Linked DNA regions of Homo sapiens: region 1 is linked to region 2. Evidence: promoter capture Hi-C in 16 types of primary human blood cells and fetal thymus (Javierre and others, 2016). All regions are on one chromosome and are shown on one strand. The core of a region is centred on a gene start or on the middle of the fragment in contact, and the rest is flanking DNA. Distances in the headings are between cores, read along the strand shown.

Region 1 (6,827 bases), core at 4,122-6,621, 1.6 Mb after region 2:
TGTCTCGTTCAATGATCCTCTTGCCCTGATCTTGTTCAGACGGTGTCTCTCCCGTGTACAGCACCACAGTCTCTATGGTGGGAGCCTTAAAAGGGCCCCCTTCTTGCTTCCCTATCTGTCGTCTGATTTCTGCAGTCTCCTTGCACACCTTTTCATAGCAGTAGGCACAAAGGACATGTTTCTGTTTCAGGTGACCACATTCAGGACAAACGTCTATGTTGTTCTTTAAAACAATAAACAAAAACGTATTTTAACATGAGGCAATATAACGAACAAATAACCACTGACAGGAGCAATGCTTACATTTTAACTTTCTTAGGATGTTCAGGCTACATGAGGTCATCATACACCATCTAGTTCCACCTCACTTTAACAGGAAGACTGAAGACAAGCAACACTGAGTTTGAATTAGAGAAAAACTAGAACTAGAATTCAGCCAACCTGAATCTGGTATCTTTACTTAAACACAGCAGTTGTAGTTATGTAAAAAAGAAAAAAGAAATACTCATTTCCCCTAACTCCAAATACTAAATATCAAATAAGGAATTTGTCAACATAATGAAGTGACCCAAACAATCAGCATCTTAAATAAGACACCAAGGAAAAGTGAATTCCCTTTGTCTTTCAATCTATCTTAGGGAAAACAAGATAAGAACATTACAAGTTGACTTCCTTGGCTTCCTCTTTTTATCACAGTGTAATTCAAATTCCTGTACAGAATACAGGTTTCGTATATGGTATAATTTTTCTTTTTAAAAATGAACACTGATTATTCCTTAATGTAAAATTATTTTCTATGTTACATTCTTAGGGTATTTTAATGATATATATATGTGTGTGTATATATATATATATAGAGATAGATATAGATATATATATATCTCCAACTTTAAATATAAAATAGAAACATTATAACCTCTAAAAGATTTATCAACTTATTCTAGATGTAGGTTTGAAAGAAAATACAAAGAAAAATACTAAACAGGATCATTAAAGAAGCTTTAAACACTTGATAAGATTAATATACTAACATTTGTGAGGCAGATAACAAAAGAATTTCCTTTTCTGAAAGGAAGAAAGAGGCTTGTATATTACTTGCCTAACCATATTCTCATTTTGCTCCACTACTGGAAACTGGATTGCATGCACAACTGAAGGTATGAAGACACCCACAGTCAGCTGGTCTTCCTTTCGTGATCAAAGTACCCAACATAACACACTATATACCGTATGTAACAGAAAATAATTCAAGGAAGAAAATAAATGCACAGGATAAGAACTATTCCTTCAGAATAAATGCGATCAGGGAAGTCACATAATAGATCAGTGCAAGATCTCATTCCTAAAATCTTACGTCCTCTTGAGCAAATTTATGAATTACTGTAAGTCTTAAGTAATAAAGTGTTTTTCAGTTCTACATTTAAGTTCAGCCCCAACCATCACTCAATAATACTTTCTGGCTTAAGTTCTAAGGTTTTGCTTAACAGAATGTGGATGCTTATGAAAGTCAGCTTTCTGTTCTCGAGTTTCATCTGTATGGTGCTGCTGTTGTGGAACGCCATGAAGTAAACAGTAACTGAAATCCTAACTGTTAAAACCATACATGAACAGATCAGAGGTAATACACACTGTAATTTTTCTTTACTAGATCAATGAAGACAGTACATCCATGTTGTCAGCGAGGAGAATCTGAAATTGTCTGAGGATAGGAGAACACAAAGAAAATCTTTAAAAGAACATGAGGTCAAAAATCAGAGCTCGAAAATCTACTGCTTCATAGCTGTGTGACCACAGGCAAATTCTTTTTGCCTCAGTTTTTTCATCCTAATAATGAAGAATATCTTATTTGCTTTGGAGGGCTATAAGACATGATGAGATATAATAAACATAAGGCACTGAGATACATCATAGACACTTAATTGTTGTTAGCTATTATATTACTTATCTTAGGGTTTTCCTTCATGGTATTTTGTTGGAAATGATAAAAAAATAAAACAAATATGTAAGGGCTTGTAAAACCCAAGATTCAGTATACCTACTGCTTCTAGCTTTAATTCTAGGCTCTGCCATAGTTAGGATGTTTACTCATCTGTAGTTCAAAACTCACACAGCTCAAGACTGACACAGCTCACAATTCAGAAGTCATGTAGGCACCTCACAGCCTCGTTCCTTGCCCAGTCTCCAAACTCACTCCTTCCTTGACTGTGTTTCTAATACTCAGGCTAGAGGACAGCAGGCTCTAGCCTTCTCATTATGTATATAATGAGAATACTGTATTTCATTTAGGCCAGAGGAAAGTAGACACATATAATCTGATAATAATTTATTCCTAGGCTATAGGAATCTACCATGAGCTTATTCAATGGAGGACTTGAGGAAAAGCACACCCACAAAAATCAATGCATTACCTTAACTTTAATAAGCTTCTGCGGATTTCTTCTCCTACACCGGTTAACTTCAATGGTGCGTCTATTTTTGGGAGCTGCCATCCAAAAGATACTGTCCAAAAGGCTGGAATTCTCTTTACTTCCACTGGTATCATTTGCTGGCTCTGTAAACATGGCTGGGCCCTGTACTGCTAATGCTGGTCCTAGGAAATAAAACATAAGAGATACAGAATTAGTTTCTAGCTTCTAAATTACTATTTACAGATATCATTTTCCTTAACAATCAATGGTCAAACATACACACACACAAAAACTATATATAAAATTTAGAATGTGAAACTCAATAATGAGAAACCTTAGCTATTAAAATACACTAAAGCTTATACAATTTTAAGGAACACAGAATTTTTTCTTAGCGGATCCTGCTGAAAAGAAGATCAGTGAAATTCCATCAAGTTTCTTATCTCATAAAATACAGGACTCTGATAGGCACCTAACTTGAACAAAACAAGCAAAGAATCACTCAACTGTCCACATTCTATTAATACTTGGCGGGTAGTAAGTACCTGATTAATTTACAAGTAAATCTAGACAGATTTCCTGAATACACTTCTGACCGGCACTGATGTAACTGCCAATTGCCTTTTCTTATATTCAAACTGAGTCAGGTCCTTTATGATACAACCTCTTAAGTCACTTAGTTCCTCATAACATTTAATCTTGATTCCTGTCTGCTCTCTAAAGAAAAGAGCCAGCTCACCATTTCTCTGTATGGCCTTATTTATGTGACTATCAAAGTTTCTCTTTTTCTGAATTGCTTATAAAATCAACATTCCTTTACCCTTTCCTTGCTATTTCTTAGACGTGCCATACTTTTTTTTTTTTTTTTTGAGACTGAGTCTCACTCTGTCACTCAGGCTAGAGTGCAGTGGCGTGACCTCGGCTCACTGCAACCTCCGCCTCCCTGGTTCAAGTGATTCTCCTGCCTCAGCCTCCCAAGTAGCTGGGATTACAGGTGTGCACCACCACGCCTGGTTAATTTTGTATTTTTAGTAGAGACAGGGTTTCACAATGTTGGCCAGGCTGGTCTTGAACTCCTGACCTTAGGTGATGGACCCACCTTGGCCTCCCAAAGTGCTGAGATTACAGGTGTGAGCCACCGCGCCCAGCCCACATACTTCTTTTGATCTTAAGAACTCTTAAAAATACACAAAGTTCTCTAACACTTAACAACTGGCATTTATTTTCAGTATGTCCACAAGTATTGCCAAGCATGCCCCGGTGATTAACAACACAGGCTCAGGACTGTCTGTGAACTTGGGACCATTGTGAGCCTACTGTTTCAGTTGGAAAGTGTATACACCTAATGGGACTGTTGTCAAGATTATCCCAGGAAGTACATGTAGAAAGCTTGGCACATTGCTTGGCATATAGTGGCATATATTTTCTTGGTATATTTCTGGATATTATCACTTTCAGGCTGCTTAGAAATTGAGTAGAATGTAAATGCCAAAGCCATGACAGTTTCAACATCCAAGATACTTCCAATTAAAATTAATTCCAAGTGAAACATGGGAAACAGAATTCAGCTCCTCAGAGCTCAAACACCACAGAAAACATGTACTGCGCGGGAGGGAGGGAGGAAGGGAGGAAAGAAGGGAGGGAAGGGAAGGGAAGAGGAGAGGGGGGAGAGGGGAAGCGGGAGGGGAGGTGAGGGCAGGGCTGGAAAGGAAAGACAGATCCAGAGAGTGGTGAGCCTTGATGCCAAGTGAGACCTGCAGAACTGTCCTCTCAGGACAACTCTGTACAAATCCCTGAACTCCACAGACTTGACCAAACTCTAGCATAGTTTCTAGCAGCATAAGGCTGTATCCTAGGATGACCTCGGCCCCCCCTTTAAAGTGCCTGCCTGAGAAAGCTCAACGCTGCCTGGAAAATTTCCTATTTATTTTGGCCAACATACCCCGATAGTAGGTCCCGAACTCCCTTAGAGCATTTCCTGGAAAGGGCATATAATTGTAAATACGTATCCCTTGCAACTAACTCGGAAGCTTTTCTTTCAAGGCCCTGAGAGCCATTCCTTCGAAATCTAATCATTAGGAAGGATAGGGCCTTTGTCTCCCAGTCTCTGCGGGAGGATAGAATTCTCCCTAAGACAACTGCGAGCTAGCAGACACAGCCGGCTAATCACATTTGCACTGACTTCACTATACTACACTTCTCTGACTCTACAGAGCCCCTACACTCCCGCCTCGCTCATTCTCCCTTTAAAACGCCCAAAGTCACCTCTGCACAAACCGGGATGGAGCTCAGCTCTTTACCTGCAGTAGTTACTGAATAAAATCTGTTTTCAGCGCTTTACTTACTGGCTGGCTATGATTTATCTTTGACACAAGCTTGGGTTACATTCTGTGTACGAATGGAACAAGCAGAGGAATTTTTTTTTTTTTTTTTTTGCGGTGGAGGGAGCGCAAAAACAGTCGTTCTGTTCTCGCTAATATGGGAATGTCACGAACTACGTCCCCGACATGAGGCCGCGGATCAGAACCGGGGCTGAGGGCGAACTGTGTAAGCTGCGTCTGCTACGCTGCCCGAGGTCCCGTCATCAGCCCCCTCTCCCACGGAGCCCTTCTTTACCTACCCCACGGAGGACTGGGAAAGCCCGGCCGGCTCTGCGGAAGCTTCCGTAGCAGTCGCTCCCAGTAGTTTCGAAGCACTCCCCGGGCCGCAGACCACGGCGAAACCACCAAGACCAGCATGGCCAGCGCCATTTTCCCTGCTGGAAGACCGCCCCGGTCCCGCCCCTGCTTTCAGCATGCGCACAGGCACAGAATCGGGCAAGCCTCGCTTCTTAGAACTACAACACCCCGCATGCTCTTGGAGCAGCTCTGACTCTCCTCCAATCATAGAGAGTAAAGGAAAGGTGAGGGGCGGGGAAATGAAAGGAAATCGGCCACAGTGCGCATGTGTGCGGCTGTGCTTTGGCTCTTCGGGTAAAGATGGCGGAGCGCGGGTACAGCTTTTCGCTGACTACATTCAGGTATGGAAGGGGCCCTCGAGGTCTTCAGCGTAGTCGAGGTTGCTGGTACTCTGTCGATTTAGTTTTTCCCATCCTGACGTCGGCATTGGTGCTTCTGGAGGGTCCAGTAGGGAATGGAGTTGGAAATGCGGCTTTGCAAAGTCATTTGCCAGGCCGACCCGGGATTCCTGGAGCTTCCTTGGTCGGAGGCTGCTGGAGGGTCGGGGGGATGCGGTTTTGCGGGGTTAACATGGGGCTGCGGGACGGTGAGGCACATAGCCAAGGATTCGCTTTCACTTTGGAGACCAGAAAAGAAGGCAGTTTTAGCTTAACCATCTCTGGGTGGCCCGTTCCGAACTCAGGATTTTTTTCCTGGCTCAAGTAGACCTGATGCGGTGGTTTCTGAAACTTGGAATCTTGGTCAAATATGTGGGGTTCCCTTTTCTTGGAAAACTCTCAGCTTTACAGTTAAGTCGGAGTCTTGGTCTCCATTTGGCACTAGTGTCTTTCAAAACCTCCCGCTTTCGGTTTCTTCGATGCACGAATTAGAAACATAAGGACTAAAAACCGAAAGCCCCTATCACTTTTTTGTGAACCCCTAACAACGAGGCAAGTTTGAGTTTTGGTCTTTTTTTGGTGGACTGGGGGGAACGTCGGGGAGGGGGATGTTTACTTTAAACAAGATTGTAGGTTTTTCTATTGTAGAAAAGGGGATTAGAATAATAAGTTTACTTTCCAAAATACAGTTGGGGCGAACCATGGCTCTCAACGTGAGAAAACCATCGCCGAAGACTTTTAAAAATTGACTGGGGAAGTTTTCTGACTTACCCATTTTCTTAAGGATCAGTAATGCCCAGTTTACTTAAAATGTACTCCTGACAACTGAAGGCAGGCGGGATCTAACTTGTTGAGTACTTTGTTAGGTGCAACTTAACCTTAACCTGCTCCATCTCTTTCCACTGCTATAATGAATGTTATCTCAGCTTCTTACAGATGAACTAACCGCAGCTTGTACAAATTAAACAACTTGTCTAAGGTCATCGGTGAGTAGCTGAGTTGACATTCAAACTGGGTTTTTTTTCTGATAACAAAAATACACTTTCCATTACATAACGTTGTCTTAAATTCCAAAAGTACTTTTCTCTTGGCAGTTTTCAGTAAGCAGTGGGTGTATGTAATAGTTTTTTTGTAACCTTTGAACGAGATTAATTTAATTATGCAATAAAAGGTCTCATTATATTACATATGACAGAATAGTGTGTGCAGGATGTATTCACTGTTCCTATTTATGAAGAAAACAAATGTGGTCCTTTTTTTAGGGACAGGGACTTGGCAGCCTCCAGCTCTTGGGCTCAAGGGATCCTCCTGCCTCAGTCTCTGGAGTAGCTGGGACTAGAGGTGTGCACCACCCTGCCTGCTAA
Region 2 (6,667 bases), core at 828-3,327:
TGCAGTGGCTCACACCTATAATTCCAGCACTTTGGGAGGCTGAGAGGGGAGGATCGCTTGAGCCCATGAGTTTCAGACCAGCCTGAACAATGTAGGCCCAACCTCGTCTCTATAAAAATAATTTAAAAATTAGCCAGGCACAGTGGCATGTGCTTGTAGTTCCAGCTACTCAGAAGGCTGAGGCAGGAGGATTGCTTGAGTTCAAGAGTTCAAGGCTACAGTTAGTTATGATCACATCGTTACATTCCAGCCTGGGTGACAGAGGGAGACCCTGCCTCTTAAAAATAAAAAAAATAGAAACTATCGCTTGTAGAAGAATTTTGATGTCATTTTAAAGACAAATAGCCACATTTATTTGAAAAGACAAAATATTCCTCTCATTTGCAACTGTCTGTGTGAGGTTGCATGTTTTCATATACTTCAATGAAAACAACATAATGCAAATTATGTTGCAGTGAATGCAGATGTGAGAATCTTGTGGTCTTCTTTTTTTTTGTGGAGACGGAGTCTAGCTCTGTCGCCCAGGCTGGAATGCAGTGGTGTGATCTCGGCTCACTGCAACCTCTGCCTCCCGGGTTCAAGCGATTCTCCTGCCTCAGCCTCCAGAGGAGCTGGGATTACAGGCACCTGCCATCACGCCTAGCTAATTTTCGTATTTTTAGTAGAGACAGGGTTTCACTGTGTTGGCCAGGCTGGTCTCGAACTCCTGATCCTCCCGCCTCGGCCTCCCAAAGTGCTGGGATTACAAGCATGAGCTACTGTGCCGGCCAAATCTTGCTGTCTTCTAGTAGGCTCATTAAAGAGATTTGCAAAAATGTAAAACTATGTTACTCCTCTCACTGAACTTTTATTGCTTTGAAGAACATTATTTTTTGCATAAAAGTATGTTAACATGTAATGTGTTTTATGGTCATTTAAAAATGATTAAATAAATATTTAAACATTTTATGTTTTAATTTCTAATGTGGTAAATATTGATAAGCATAACCCATATCAACAAATGTTCTTTGGAATGTTCAACAAATTTTAAGAGGATTAATGGTCCCTAAATCAAGAGTTTCAGAACCACTGTTCTAGGGCAATTTACCTGAGTTGGATTTTATTTACAATTCATTAAAGCTTATACACTATGAAGACATGTTAACTTGCATGTTTTAATCTAGAAGAGGTGCAAATCATTTCTATACACTAGAAATGATAATCTATGGTTTTATCATCTTGTAGAACACCAGCCAGCTTTGTATCCAACCTAATCTTACTCTAATGCTTTGTCAAAATGTTTAATCTCCACTTCCTCAAAATGCTTTTGAACCAGCTTTACCATATCATTGTTAATTTGCTGAAGAAATCTTGGATATGTGTTCATGATATATTTGTATGAGTGTCATGCTTTTTACTTTTTTAAGATTATACTTTGACAGACACTAACAACATATGTATATATGACGTATATATGTATATACATACTATACACACACATACACGTACATATTTCACAACGATGGCATACGGATTCTCTATTCTGAATCTAGCTCTTTCCACTTAATATACGTTGAATGCACTCTTTATTTTCTTCGTCATCTTGACTTTCTTCTGATGCAACGCCCTGAGTTTAACTCACAGATCTGTTAATAAGAAACCCATACATCCCACATATACGCATTTTCCCGTCTCTGGCTCACTAACAAAAAGCTTACCCTAGCCCCATCTTTAACCATAGGTTCCAAATACCCAGGCTGGAATTCAACACAGAAATAAGAAAGGATCCACAGACAACGTGACAAAAATCCGAGCAGTCACGTGACACTGCACGCCCCATAATTTTTTTCCGCCCGCTTCAAACATGGCGGTCAAGCCCTCGCAGCGCAGCAGAAGCCACGGGCTTCCTTCCGCGTAGGAACCTCCTTGCTGCCCTTGTCGGGCTCTTTTGTCTAAGACCACCTCAAGGCAAAGCCCGTGGGGCAGCTGGGTCTGGGGAAAACAGCCCGGGGCCGCGGGGGCCGAACGAGCACGGACCGGAAGTTCCGCAGCCGCGCCGTCCGGCGGAGCCGTTGGCTGCGGACGCCGGAAGTGGCCAGTCGGCAGGTCTGAGGCGGCGCTGTGTGTGTGAAGCGTACCTAGGGCGGGAGGCGACATGGAGACAGGGGCGGCCGAGCTGTATGACCAGGCCCTTTTGGGCATCCTGCAGCACGTGGGCAACGTCCAGGATTTCCTGCGCGTTCTCTTTGGCTTCCTCTACCGCAAGACAGACTTCTATCGCTTGCTGCGCCACCCATCGGACCGCATGGGCTTCCCGCCCGGGGCCGCGCAGGCCTTGGTGCTGCAGGTGAGGCGGGCGGGCCTGCGGTCTGGGGAGCCGCCGCCCCCGGCCTGCCCTGACTCCTGGCGCCCGCTCCTCCAAGCTCTCCCAGCCTGTTTCCTCCTTTTCCTGGTGTCCTGGGGTTGAGCTTGTGAGAATGGCTTCAGTAATTTGAAGCGCGGATTGGATGTCAGCTTATTCCGCTGAGGTGTTCGCTCCGGACGTCCTGAGGTTTCAGAAGTAGTAAGCCGACTGTTAAGAGCCCTACTCAGCACCCGCCAGCGCGTACCCCTCACGGTGCTGGGGGCCGCTAGTCAGGGAGCGAAATCCATGCAGGCCAGACAGAAGGAAGGACATTTACAGCAACAGAAACGTGCATGCCCCAGAACTACCAAAGACTTGAGCTGGCGGGGATGACGGAGGCATTGTGTTGATCAATGGGTGTGGTCGCTTGTTTGAAATGTGACTTCCCAGGTCAAAGACTGTCAATGTAGTGCTTATTAAAATTTCTATTTGAGCTTAATTCCGTACCCTCCAGGTTAAGTTTATTGTATGTTGGAAACGCTGTCAATACTCATTCAGTGAAGTTGACTGGGCACTTTTGAATGTAGTGGTAAGCAACCTTTTGCTGAATGTAGTTTACACTCTTAGTTGCCGCAGGTGAGGGTGATACGGGTGTTTAAGTAATGGTTTCTCTCTCCTTGTGACACAGTTAAAGAGAGAAAACCCAGAAAGTAATAGAAAACTTTTTAAGGGCAATTATTTGATGGAGCCCATTGTAAAGAAAGGAAATAGAAATGATGGTTGAGAAGTGAAGTTTTTATAAGAGAGGTGGGACTTCTGATGAGATTAAAAGAAACTATTCAGCCAAGTATTAAGCCTATTTGTAGAAACCCAAGAAGATAGAAATGCTGATGATACCTCCCTCAGTTCTCTAGATGTTACAGTTTATAAAATGCTTCAGATGTTTCCTCCTGAAGTCTTAATGCATGCTGCAGGTTGGTAAGATGTTACTTTCCTCAGCAGAAGCCAAAGCTTTGAATGTCTTGGTAGCTACCAGGGTAATAGGGCCAAACGAGGAATGGGGTTCCATTAGGATTCAATTTCAGAACTTAAGGCTATTCCTCGTCCTTGTCAGTGGCATAAGTGCCATCTTAGTGATGAGAGAGCTGTTGGAGGTGGCCTTTAGCAGGATCTTATGGCAGGTTAATGAAGTCTTGCCATTTGATCTTCAGTGTCTCTGTGAAACAGATAAGTTTCAAGTTTACGTACCAATTCAGCAAGGTTAAGTGATTTGACCAAGAACACACAGCCAGTTCACCGTAGAGCTGAAACTAAAAATTTCATTTTGTGGATTCCAAATCTTCCTGTTCTGTTGTTTAACCATTCCATAGTAGGATGAGAACACTTTTGTCTAGATTGATTGTAGTTTGCAGAAAGATGTGGAGGAGAAAGGAGTATATACTGAGTAATATGTATAGTATCAGATGTTTTATATTCTGGGGTCGTTATCTTATTTAACCCTTAATATAACCTGAGAGGTTGGTCTTTGTTTCACAGATGAACTGACAGAGCACTCATTAACCTGGTAACTCATTTACCTGGTAACACCTCTTACAAGACACTTCCATAGGTTAGGATTTGGTGACCAGTCTAATGAAGTAGTGGAGATGGGGAGCAGGGATGGAGGAAGGGGAGGGATGGGTCAAAGATGATCCAAGGTTTCAACTTGGGTGACTGGAATAGTGATAATGCGTTAACTGAACTGTCACCTGGGTTTAGGGGAAAAAGTTCAGTTTTAGACAGGTTGAACTTGAAGTTGCAGGTAGGAGTCCCTGCCCATAGGCTATTGGAATTACTGGACTAGATCTTTTGGGAGCTAGAGCAACTGGAGTGGTCCGAGGGAGAGAGAAGAGCCAAAGGTGAAGAACAGGCCTTGGGGAATAATCTTGGTGGAGAGCAATAAGTTTCACAGAAACCAAGGGGACAACAGTCTCCAGCAGATGCTTAAGAGAGGTGTCATGTTTTCTGGAAGTGGTTCTCAACCATCAGCATCGCTTAAGGAACTTTTTTCTTTCTTTTTTTTTTTTTTTTTTTCCTGGAGATGGAGTCTCACTCTGTCGCCCAGGCTGGAGTGCAGTGGCATGATCTCAGCTCACTGCAACCTCCGCCTCCTGGGTTCAAGCAATTCTCCTGCCTCAGCCTCTCGAGTAGCTGGGACTGCAGGTGTGCGCCACCACGCCCGGCTGATTTTTGTATTTTTAGTAGAGATGGGGTTTCATCATGTTGGCGAGACTGGTCTCAAACTCCTGACCTTGTGTTCTGCCTGCCTCGGCCTCCTAAAGTGCTAGGATTACAGGTGTGAGCCACTGCGCCTGGCCAAGGAACTTTTAAAAGCACATATTCCTGGATATTTTGGTTGGGTAGATCAGGGTGAATCCTGGGAACCTGTTCTTTTTTTTATTTTTTTATTTTTTATTTTTGAGATGGAGTCTCATTCTGTTGTCCAGGCTGGAGTGCAGTGGCGCAATCTTGGCTCACTGCACCTCCTCCTCCCAGGTTCAAGTGATTCTCCTGCCTCAGCCTCCCGAGTAGCTGGGTTTACAGGCATGTACCACCATGCCTAGAGAATTTTTGTATTTTTAGTAGTAGAAATGGGGTTTCACCGTGTTGGCCAGGCTGGTCTTGAACTCCTGACCTCAGGTGATCACCCGCCTCAGCCTCCCAAAGTGCTGGGATTACAGACATGAGCTACTGCACCTGGCTGGAACCTGTTCTTTTATCCACAAAAGCTCATTTGACAGGAGGTTTGTAAAGGTGATTTCAGTATTGACAAGGGTTTTATTGTGGGGTGGGACAACACTGAATGAGACTGAGTGACTTGGTACCAGCATAACATTATTTCTTCGTGGTAGTAGGTGATCTCCTGACCTCCCCACTCCTACTCATCTGCCTCTTAGGGTTTTTTTTTTTTTCTGTCCCTAACTTGATGGCATAAGACTCCTTCCTGGGGTCTGCCTCTCCACCCCCACCAGATGTGGGATGCTTGGTGTCTCTGCTGAATATAGGCAGAGAAGAATTTGGATGGGAGTGCTGGGCTGCATCATTGTGGAACTTCAAAGCGTTCCCTTAATATTTTGGGGAGTACAGTGTTGGTGTAGAGTTAGGCAGCTCATACGTTTCCTTTTAAAAGTTTGCATAGCCTGGATACACAGCTTGAAGAACCTCAGCAGGAATGATGTATGTGAAAATTGCATTCCATTTTATAATACATTAGTATGTTTTAAGACAAAAATCGTTTAGACTGACAAGCCATTCATTATAATCGATAATGCTGTTTTTTTTGGAGTCCACTTTGAGAAGTGCTCCTTTGTAGAAGTCCTTGAAACTAGAATCAGGAAAGCTAGCTACATCCTGTTCCTTACATAAATTGTTGAGAAATCTTGGGAGAGTCACTTCACCTCTTGTCAGCTGAGAAGATTGATTGGAGGTTACAGATTAGAGTTCTCTTCCAGCCCTATGTTCTGTGACTCTAGAATGAGTACTGAGAACATGTGATAGTTGGGAGGTTGGCAGTGGTAGCACTTCCTGGTGGTGTGAATGGGTAGGTCAGAGAAGGCTGGATGTACTGAGTGAGCAGAGGCAGCTGCATGGTGAGGACTATCAAGTCTGGGGGTTCTGTGTTCGAAGTCTCAGGTGTTAGGAGAGAGAGATCTTGTTGCTTTGCTTTTGTGGAGTTAAGATGAAGATCTGGAGTATCAGCAGGATGAGCAACTCTGAAAGCATGGACTCAAAGCGGTAGAGACCCTAATGTTAGAATGAAGTCAGGGCTTCAGGTTATCTGCAGAAGTAAAAATGGTTCTGGTGTTGTTTCCAGTTTTTAACCTTTTAGGATTTTATTGATTTTTTTTTTTCCCCTCTGCCTACATCATCATCTCCCCACACTGTTTGGTGTGTGCTGCGTAGTTTTTTACTTCTTTTGCCAGCAGGAGCTGGGGCAAGTTACGTAACCTTTCCAAGCCTTATTTTTTTCTCATTTTTGAAATGTTGATGCTGTCTTCTTCACAGTATTTTTGTGAGGGTTTTGAGAGAATGTTTGTAAAATAATTTGACACAGTTAGTCTGTTAGCACCCTTTTGACTGCCCGCGCAGTGCACAGAACATTGTTATTTAATACCTGTCCGCATTCTAGCCCTTTGGAATCTGACTCCCACCCATGTCCCAGGTTGCTGTCTCAGCCTTTCCTTCCTCCAGTTATTGCAAGAGCTTTTGCCCTTCCTTGACAAGCCTATTCTTAGAGCTGTGGCATTTCCTCCAGTGGTTCCCTGTGGAAGATGTGCCTCTCATTCAGGGTCTAACTGGGATCCT

What was found. Contacts are between HindIII fragments. The CHiCAGO score rates a contact against its expected background, and 5 or more counts as called.
Region 1: the fragment with the promoter of PSMA2 here is called in contact with the fragment with the promoter of NUDCD3 in region 2 in 8 of 17 cell types (non-activated CD4 T cells, fetal thymus, total CD8 T cells and 5 more); the score reaches 13.6 in non-activated CD4 T cells.

Annotation. Positions count from the first base shown.
Region 1 is chr7:42,930,718-42,937,544 of GRCh38, reverse strand. It overlaps PSMA2 (proteasome 20S subunit alpha 2), which reads left to right and starts at 5,371. Exons shown (of 8, transcript NM_002787.5): 1 at 5,371-5,427. The coding sequence starts at 5,387. It overlaps MRPL32 (mitochondrial ribosomal protein L32), which reads right to left and starts at 5,169. Exons shown (of 3, transcript NM_031903.3): 1 at 5,029-5,169; 2 at 2,409-2,590; 3 at 1-223. The coding sequence starts at 5,158. RefSeq lists an enhancer at 4,991-5,220. The HindIII fragment of the contact is 5,414 bases long and covers 5,071-6,827 here.
Region 2 is chr7:44,486,068-44,492,734 of GRCh38, reverse strand. It overlaps NUDCD3 (NudC domain containing 3), which reads left to right and starts at 2,077. Exons shown (of 6, transcript NM_015332.4): 1 at 2,077-2,326. The coding sequence starts at 2,135. RefSeq lists silencers at 134-260, 2,326-2,495. The HindIII fragment of the contact is 1,642 bases long and covers 1,695-3,336 here.